2 separate regions of the Homo sapiens genome follow, and region 2 is linked to region 1. Evidence: promoter capture Hi-C in human tissues and cell types (Jung and others, 2019). All regions are on one chromosome and are shown on one strand. Each heading gives the region's core, a stretch centred on a gene start or on the middle of the fragment in contact. The rest is flanking DNA. Distances are from core to core; before and after follow the strand shown.

Region 1 (3,888 bases), core at 448-2,947:
TGCCTGCCTGGCTGGCTGATGCCTCTTCTAAGACTCTTTAAAGGGAGAAATGGACAGCTCTTAGTGCTCCCCACCACCTTCTGTCCAGGCAAAAGCTGCTCTGCTCTCTTCTGAGCCATGCTTCCCCCACTCACAGAGGGTTGCTGGTCTTGAGCGTGTCCTTCTCTGAGCGCTTCTCCTGCTTTGCCTTAAGTCGAGCCTCGGCCTTCTCTAACTTCTTTGCATTCACTGTCTAAGGGTCCAAACACATCGACTTCACTCTCGGGTGTAGGCTCAGAAAGGAACCCCAAGAGAGAACATCTCGAGTAAACCCTCTTAACTTACCCATGATGAACAGACTCAAAGGCTCAGGAAAAGACATAGTCAGAAATCCCCCCAAAAGATACTCCAATTAGACAGTCAACTCCCAACCCCATCACAGACAGTCCCCTCCCTTGCTTCCTCCTCCTCACCGAGGACTGTTCCCTCTTTAGCAGTCCTGGAAGTTTGGTTCCACAGTCTGTAAGCGATAAGAAAAGCAGTCACCTTCTCCCTGAGGGAAGGGAAACTAACATTTTGAGTGACTAATAGGAACCAGGCACAGACACAGATGTTTTCTACAAAACCTTATAATACTGCAGATAGATGGCTATTATCTTCCCTGCACTAAAAACAAAACAAAACAAAACAAAACAAAACTCACGTAGAAGGATACAGAGGCATAGACAAGGCTGGGGACAGATAACCAACTCTTACAAGATCATGCAGCTGGTTAGCAAGTTGCAAAACTGGGGGTGAAAGCAAGTCTGTCCAGCTCCAGGCTCTTATGCTTCCTATCCTACCCAAGAGCTTGGAGGGAGAACCCTCCAACCTCCTCCCCACCCCCATCATGGGCTCTTCTGCCCTCGGTAAAGACATCAACTAGCTCCTACAACCTTGTCCTGTGGAAAAGACGTAGGAGCCCTAAGCTGCAGGCAGCAGATGGTTGGGGGCGGAGAAAAGCACAGGGGGGCAGTTAGTTCAACCTCCCCTCACTCTCACCGTAGTTCTCCGTTATCTTTGACAACTGGATAGGGGCGTCCAGTAGCACCTGGCTATTTCCCTGGCTTTGTGGCTCAGCCCTATGTGGGTAGGGATAGAAAGCGCAGAGTTAGGAGTTGAGGGAAAAGCTCTATGGCCATCAGATCTTCCTCCCCCACCTCTTGTCTCCGGACCGTTCGCCGTCCCTTCGCCCCCATCAACCCCTACTCCCTGGCACATACAGACGCAGAGTGTTGTACATGCGCTGGCACACGGCCCTGATGCCCGCGTCATCCTTGCTGTCCCCGGACACCTCTTGCAATAGTTCCCCTACAGCTTCCACCAGGTCATCCACAGACTCGAAGTCCGCGCTGCCGCTGTGCAAGACGCCTGGGCAGGGCGTGGTAGAACGAGGAAGGTATCGGGTAGGGTGGACACACAAGCAGTTTCAGACCCCAGACAGAGGCCCCAGTCCAGGCTCCAGACCCAACCAGCCCCCGGGACAAGAGGTCATGCAGAGGAGAGGCCTGGCAACAGTCCCGGGCACGACGCTCGCTTAGACTTTCCCCCGGCCTCCACTTCGGTCTCCCCAGCCGGCCGATTCAGTTCTGCTTACCGGTCACGTAGTCGAAGACTTGTCCGTCAATTTCGGGGAACTCGCTCCGCAGGATTTCGGCGCAAGTCGCCATGTTCCACTCAGGAACCCGTCCGCGCAGTCGCTGTGAGACCCCGGCCTAGGCCCGCCCCCCGCCCTGCCCCCGAAATCTCGCCCTTCCTTGCAAGGCGCATGTGTAGCGGTGACGCAGGAAAGGAGCGGAGTGCGCAGAGCCCGGTGGGCGGGGCGAGCGGGGCCTTGAGGAGAGGCGCCGAGTCTGCGCCGGAGCCGCGCTCTCTGCGCGTGCGCGACACCTTTTCCGCTGAAAGATTAGCCACATGTGCGGTTCTCGCTGCCTTCTGGGAGGTGGAGTTCCGGGAGCGAGGGGTGGGGCAAAGGCTGGGAGCTCAAGGTTTATCGGGGCCGCGAGGCACCCGTGGTCTGGCGGGTGGGAGCCTCCCAAGAGGCAGGCGGCTGATAAAGCACTTTGGCTTTGCCAGGTTTTATGCGCTCCCTCGAGGCGCGTCTGCTGCTGGTGCGTACCCAGTCAGGCCCATTTTGGAGCCTGCCCAGAGCTTTGCTGACTCACCCCGGTCCCTGACTCTCAGAAGCCCCCTGCTCAGTGCTTTGCTTTCGCGGGTCCCCAGACCCTACGGGCTTCTCAGCCTGGTGGCCAGCGCCACCCGCCTCCCCGCCGCGACCGCCTTTTCACTGTGTAATTCAGCCGACCTTTGTGAATTAAGCCCATTCAGTTCTTCCACCACCCCAGGGCACGACCAAATCCACCGCCAAAGGGCAAGAAAACCAGGACAACGTGGCCTGTATAAATTATTCCCTACCTACACCCTGAGCAGACTTCTCTGCACTCAATAAATGCCAATAAAAGGCTATTTCCTTTCACCGATTCCCTCGGGAAGTTAGGAATTTCCTCCAAAATGATGCTACTGCTTTATATTTAACGTGAATATTCCTCCAATTGGTCTCTAAAAGTGGCACCGAAAATTACATTATTACCCATTCATCCCTTTGGATTAAACATTGCCATCATGAGGCATCAATCCCGATATTGAACCATTTTACAGGAAATACAGGTAAAGAGGAATATGTTAAGTGACTTCATGGGGACAACAGGCAAATTCTGATGTGGTAAACTACAGAACTCTGGTTTCTTCCACAAAATTGCAAGACCTGAAGGGAAACATCAATTTTTAAAATTTGAGGAGCATTAACCAACCACAATGGACCTTATCTGGAAAAATTTGATAAGACACCTGGTTAAGTGAACACAAACTGGATGTGATATTAAGGAACTGGCCACGCATTGATCATAGTTGAAGCTGGGTGATGAGACATGGAGATTCATTATATTCTTTTTTTTTTTTTTTTTAATTTGAGAAGGAGTTTCGCTCTTGTTGCCCAGGCTGGAGTACAGTGGCGTGATCTTGGCTCACCGCAGCCTCCACCTCCTGGGTTCGAGCGATTCTCCTGCCTCAGCCCCCGAATAGCTGGGATTACCGGCATGCACCACCACGCCCGGCTAATTTTGTAATTTTAGTAGAGACGAGGTTTCCCCATGTTGGTCAGGCTGGTCTCGAATTCCGGACCTCGGGTGATCCACCCGTCTCGGCCTCCCAGAGTGCTGGGATTACAGTGTGAGCCACCGCGCCCAGTCCATTATGTTATTCTCCTTGCAAATCTTTCCTCCTACCACCCAGTCAGCAAGATTTGGGAAGCTTGGGTAAATGATGGAATTAAAAGGTCAATTTCTTAGGATGGCTACAAGACCAAATGTAAACTTCACACTTAATTTATGCTTAATCTAATTAGAAAACATCTGCCTAAGAATTAGAGAAAGAGCTGGGTGCTGTGGTGGTGCGTGCTTGTGATCCCAGCTACTCCAGAGGCTGGGGCAGGTAAGATCTCTTGAGCCTAGGAGTCCGAGGACCAGGGGGAATAAAAAGGAGCTAGGGAAAGAATCTATCCCCAGGGTACTGGGGCCCGCTGCGGCTGCATGCCCTTGAGGCTTTCTAAGAGGAGCCAGGAAACCTGGGCCCAGAACCCACAAGGATAAGGGCTTGGATGGCCCAGGAGGGGCCTAACTGGGACAAGACAAGGAAAGAGCCTTTAGAGTATTCAGTACAGAAAACTGCACGGAGAGCAACACCAGTTCCCTCCCCATGTAGCTCCCACATCAACACTAAGCCAGCAACTCCACTCTACAGAGTTTATTGGGTTTGTAACTGGACGAAGTCACACGTGTACAAAATGAAGCTCACACTATCCCAAAGCAGAGT
Region 2 (4,040 bases), core at 1,097-3,596, 580 kb before region 1:
AGGGTAGTGAGGTGGGATGGGGGGTGAGGTATGTTTCTCTCTACTTCCCTTTCCTTCCATCCACTGCCAGTAGACATTTGTGCCCCACACTTTTCCAAACCCAGCAGACTAGGAAACGGTTGAGGCTAAAATTAGGATCCCTACTCCGTGTCCTCAGACCAGTGGTTCCCCACCTTGGCTGCGTATTAGAATCACCTAGGGAACTTTAAAAAAACTCTATTTCCTAGGCCATACCTCGAACCATGAAATCAGAATCTTTGGGCATCAGTAATTTTTAAGTCTCCCTGGGCAATTTCAACGTGCAGCCAAGGTTGAGAACCACTGCCTTAGAGGAAGGAAAGGAAGGAGGCAAGGAAGGGAGGAAGTAGGGGTGGTGGGAGGGAGGACAAGGCCAAAACTGGAAGCCCTTTCCCTGTGATGGAAGAAAACTGACGTGAGCCAGACCTGGTGCCACACCCCGGGACACACACCGAGAAAACCCAGTGAATCTTCTGCCAAGCCTGCCGGTGACTCGGGGTGCTGTTGTCAGTATCTTTTTTCAGCTGAGTCAACACATCGGGAGAGCCGAAGAAGACAAACACAGGGCGACTCGCCGCTGATGACTTTCCACTTCATACCTGGTGGCATCCGAGATGCCCAAAGGGAGGAGGCCTTGTCAGTGGCGACAGCGGAGACAGACAGAACCCTACACTTGATGGGATGTCGGGAGAGCGTCCAGTCTAGCCCTGTGTAGATTTCTGAACTACCCAAGACTGCTGGCCATCTGTCCCAAGAACAGGTGTGACCAGGAACCAGCCTCTGTTAGCTAGGAACACAGAGTCTGTTCATTCATTCATTCGTTCACTCACGCATTCGCCTAATCACAGCTCAGCATGGCAGAGCCGTGAGTAGGGGCCCTCAGATACCACATGCAGCTCGGCGCTTCCCAAGCTTTGTTTTTAGTTGAGGAATGCTGGGTTTAAGTGAAACCGTATGGAGGCATAAACAAATACAAGAGAGCCGCTCCAGCTAAAGCAGGGGAGGGGGCCCTGCGCCCGGCCCACTTGCCTCCCTTCCACTAAGGGGGCTTCACCAGATTCTCCTGTTTCAAGGAGAAATAGAGTTTGGAAACCTCTCATTTTATAAACGAGGACACTGAGGCACAAAGCAGGGTAGTTGGTGCCTTGCCTAAAGTCATACAGATTTCATGTAACAAATTGTGCTGGCTAGGTATGGGAGGATGCAGAGCTCACAGCACAGATGAATACCTCCATCGCAAAGGCTGAACCAAATGCCCCGTTAAATCAAGAGATCTGCCTCTCTCAGCTTTGTTTTCTGAAGAAATCCCTTCCCAGGGTTCTTCCCCAGCATGCGGCACTCAGGGAGAACCACAACCTTGTCCTCTAGGGCCCAGCAGGTGTAATGTTCAGTGGGCATGCGCTGGTGCAGCATACTGCCAGCATCCACGCCGGTGTCCTGGGGGTTTACCTGATTGTTAACTATTTTAAAGATCACACTTGGATCCCACTACCAATGTTTCCAAAGTACAAGTAAGAGCCGGACGCGGTGGCTTATGCCTGTAATCCCAGCACTCTGGGAGGCCAAGATGGGCAGATCATTTGAGGTCAGAAGTTCGAGACCAGCCTGGCCAACATGGTGAAACCCCGTCTCTACTAAAAATACAAAAATCAGCTGGATGTGATGGCAGGTGCCTGTAGTCCCAGCTACTCAAGAGGCTGAGGCAGGAGAATCACTTGAACCCGGGAGGTGGAGGTTGCCGTGAGCCAAGATAACACCACTGCACTCCAGCCTGGGCAATAGAGCGAGACTCCTTCTCAAAAAAATAAAAATAAAAGCAAAATGTGACTAAGAATCAGACAGTAACAGAAAATATCAGTAACAAAAGAGTCCACACCTGCCTTTCTCATTGCTATTATTTGATACCAGAACTACCTGAAATCTTTCAGAAAGAGGGAAGAGCATTCTTTTCCTGGGAGCTTTCTAGGTGCAGACTTCCGCTCATAGCTGACAGTGCACAATGGGCAAAGAGTGACCAGGCTGACTTCTTCTTCTTCTTCTTTTTTTTTTGAGATGGAGTTTTGCTCTTGTCGCCCAGGCTGGAGTGCAGTGGTGTGATCTTAGCTCACTGTAACCCACGCTTCCCGAGTTCAAGCGATTCTCCTGCCTCAGCCTCCCAAATAGCTGGGATTACAGGCACCCGCCAACACGCCCAGCTAATTTTTGTATTTTTAGCACAGACGGGGATTCACCATGTTGGCCAGGCTGGTCTCGAACTCCTGATCTCAGGTGATCCTCCTCAGCCTCCCAAAGTGTTGGGCTTACAGGCGTGAAACACCGCGCCTGGCCTATGCTGTCTTCTGGAGATGGACTGAAGGCCACACCAGGCCTCGGGACACAGCCTGAGGGCTTCAACCCCTGGGAAGGGATTTCTTCAGAAAACAAAGCTGAAAGAGGCAGGTCTCCTGATTTAACGGGGCATTTGGTTCAGCCTTTGCGATGGAGGTATTCACCTGTGCTGTGAGCTCTGCATCCTCCCCTACCTAACCAGCACAATTTGTTACATGAAATCTGTATGACTTTAGGCAAGGCACCAACCACCCTGCTTTGTGCCTCAGTGTCCTCGTTTATAAAATGAGAGGTTTCCAAACTCTATTTCTCCTTGAAACAGGAGAATCTGGTGAAGCCCCCTTAGTGGAAGGGAGTTCCATCCCTGCCCCTTCCACTTGCTGACAGTCTGCATGTGGCGGGGGCACGCGTTTCTCTAATCCACAGTGTACGTGTAGTGGGTGCTGTCCCCCCCAGGAACCACCCTTGGCTGAAGGGAGCCGTCTTGCCTGGGTTTCCCCCTCCCAGAGGGCACAAGGATCCCATCGCCTCAATGGGGGCACATCTTAAAAGGGCCACCCAAGCTTCAGCACACCAGCCTCGCTGCCGTTCAGCCTTTCCTGTGCCAGCCTGCCTTCATGACTCCCCAGCGGGGCTGCTCCGTGAGTGCTCCCAGTTACCCTGCATGCCGACAGCCCATGAGTGCTCCCAGTTACCCCGCACACCCAGAGCCTGCGTTTTGAGAACCTGGCCCAAAGCAGTACTCAACCACAAAACAGGGGCAGATTCCTACCTCTCGGCTACGGTGAGGGTTAAGTGAGCACACTGCTCACATGAAATTTCCTCTCCAACGCAGCGCCTGGACTATAGTAAATGAGCCATACATACTTGTTCATTTCCTCCCTCTCTCCATTCTTTCTTCCCCCAAGTGTGTTTATAGTCTTTATTGTGAGTGTTCTCTATCCTTGGAGAGAGACATCTGGCTCTCTGTTCATTGGCAGAACTGAAGTGATTGACACACTCTAAACCTAGTAAGTGTCTCATCCCTTTCTGACATACAATTGTTTATGTAGCTGTGCTCACTCCTCATACCAACACACACACACGCACACACACACACACGTACAGACACACACACGCACACACATGCCCACAAGTGGTATTGCCGAATCCTGCAGTCTTTGTAGTTTCACAAACATCCAAATCTTGACACCACTGCCACAACACACAGAGAACTGCTTGTGTGGAGACCTGTATGCCAGGTGCTGTGAGACATCCCAGGAGGGAGAAGCTCATTTTCCAATGATGGAATCAAGGAGGGCTTCATGAGAGAGGTGACATTTGTCATGGGCTTTGAAGGCTGCATAGAAATCCAGCAGGCAGAGGGGTGGGAGTGGCTTTCCAAGCCAAGGGAACTGTGGAGTTGGGAAAACACAAAGCATGTCTAGGCAAATCCTCCAGTCTAACTGAAGATAAAGCTTCAAGAGGAGGATGAGAGGGAGGAGCCAAGGGTGGGAAGGTAGTTTGTGACTTGACTGGGTGGGGCCTTGAGTGCCAAGCTGAGGCCAGAAGTAATGAGATTCTACTGACAATTTCTGAGAGGTGGAGGGAGAGCTTTTGGAAGGTCAGTCATGGAGATGATTGAATGAAAAAGATACTGAGGTCAGGCCAGACGCGGTGCCTCATGCCTGTAATCCCAGCACTTTGGGAGGCCA

What was found. Contacts are between HindIII fragments. The study calls those that stand out against the background at their distance.
Region 2: a fragment that was not itself captured here is called in contact with the fragment with the promoter of ABCF3 in region 1 in 2 of the 25 tissues and cell types used here (aorta and pancreas).

Annotation. Positions count from the first base shown.
Region 1 is chr3:184,184,008-184,187,895 of GRCh38, reverse strand. It overlaps ABCF3 (ATP binding cassette subfamily F member 3), which reads right to left and starts at 1,697. Exons shown (of 21, transcript NM_018358.3): 1 at 1,616-1,697; 2 at 1,242-1,389; 3 at 1,021-1,100; 4 at 453-499; 5 at 135-232; 6 at 1-35. The coding sequence starts at 1,688. It overlaps AP2M1 (adaptor related protein complex 2 subunit mu 1), which reads right to left. Exons shown (of 12, transcript NM_004068.4): 12 at 3,805-3,888. RefSeq lists enhancers at 1,393-1,712, 2,190-2,904. The HindIII fragment of the contact is 10,900 bases long and covers 1-3,888 here.
Region 2 is chr3:184,766,497-184,770,536 of GRCh38, reverse strand. The region is part of intron 1 of LINC02069 (long intergenic non-protein coding RNA 2069); the gene reads left to right. Among named protein-coding and RNA genes, the nearest start is that of LINC02069, 4.6 kb to the left of the region's middle. The HindIII fragment of the contact is 4,547 bases long and covers 73-4,040 here.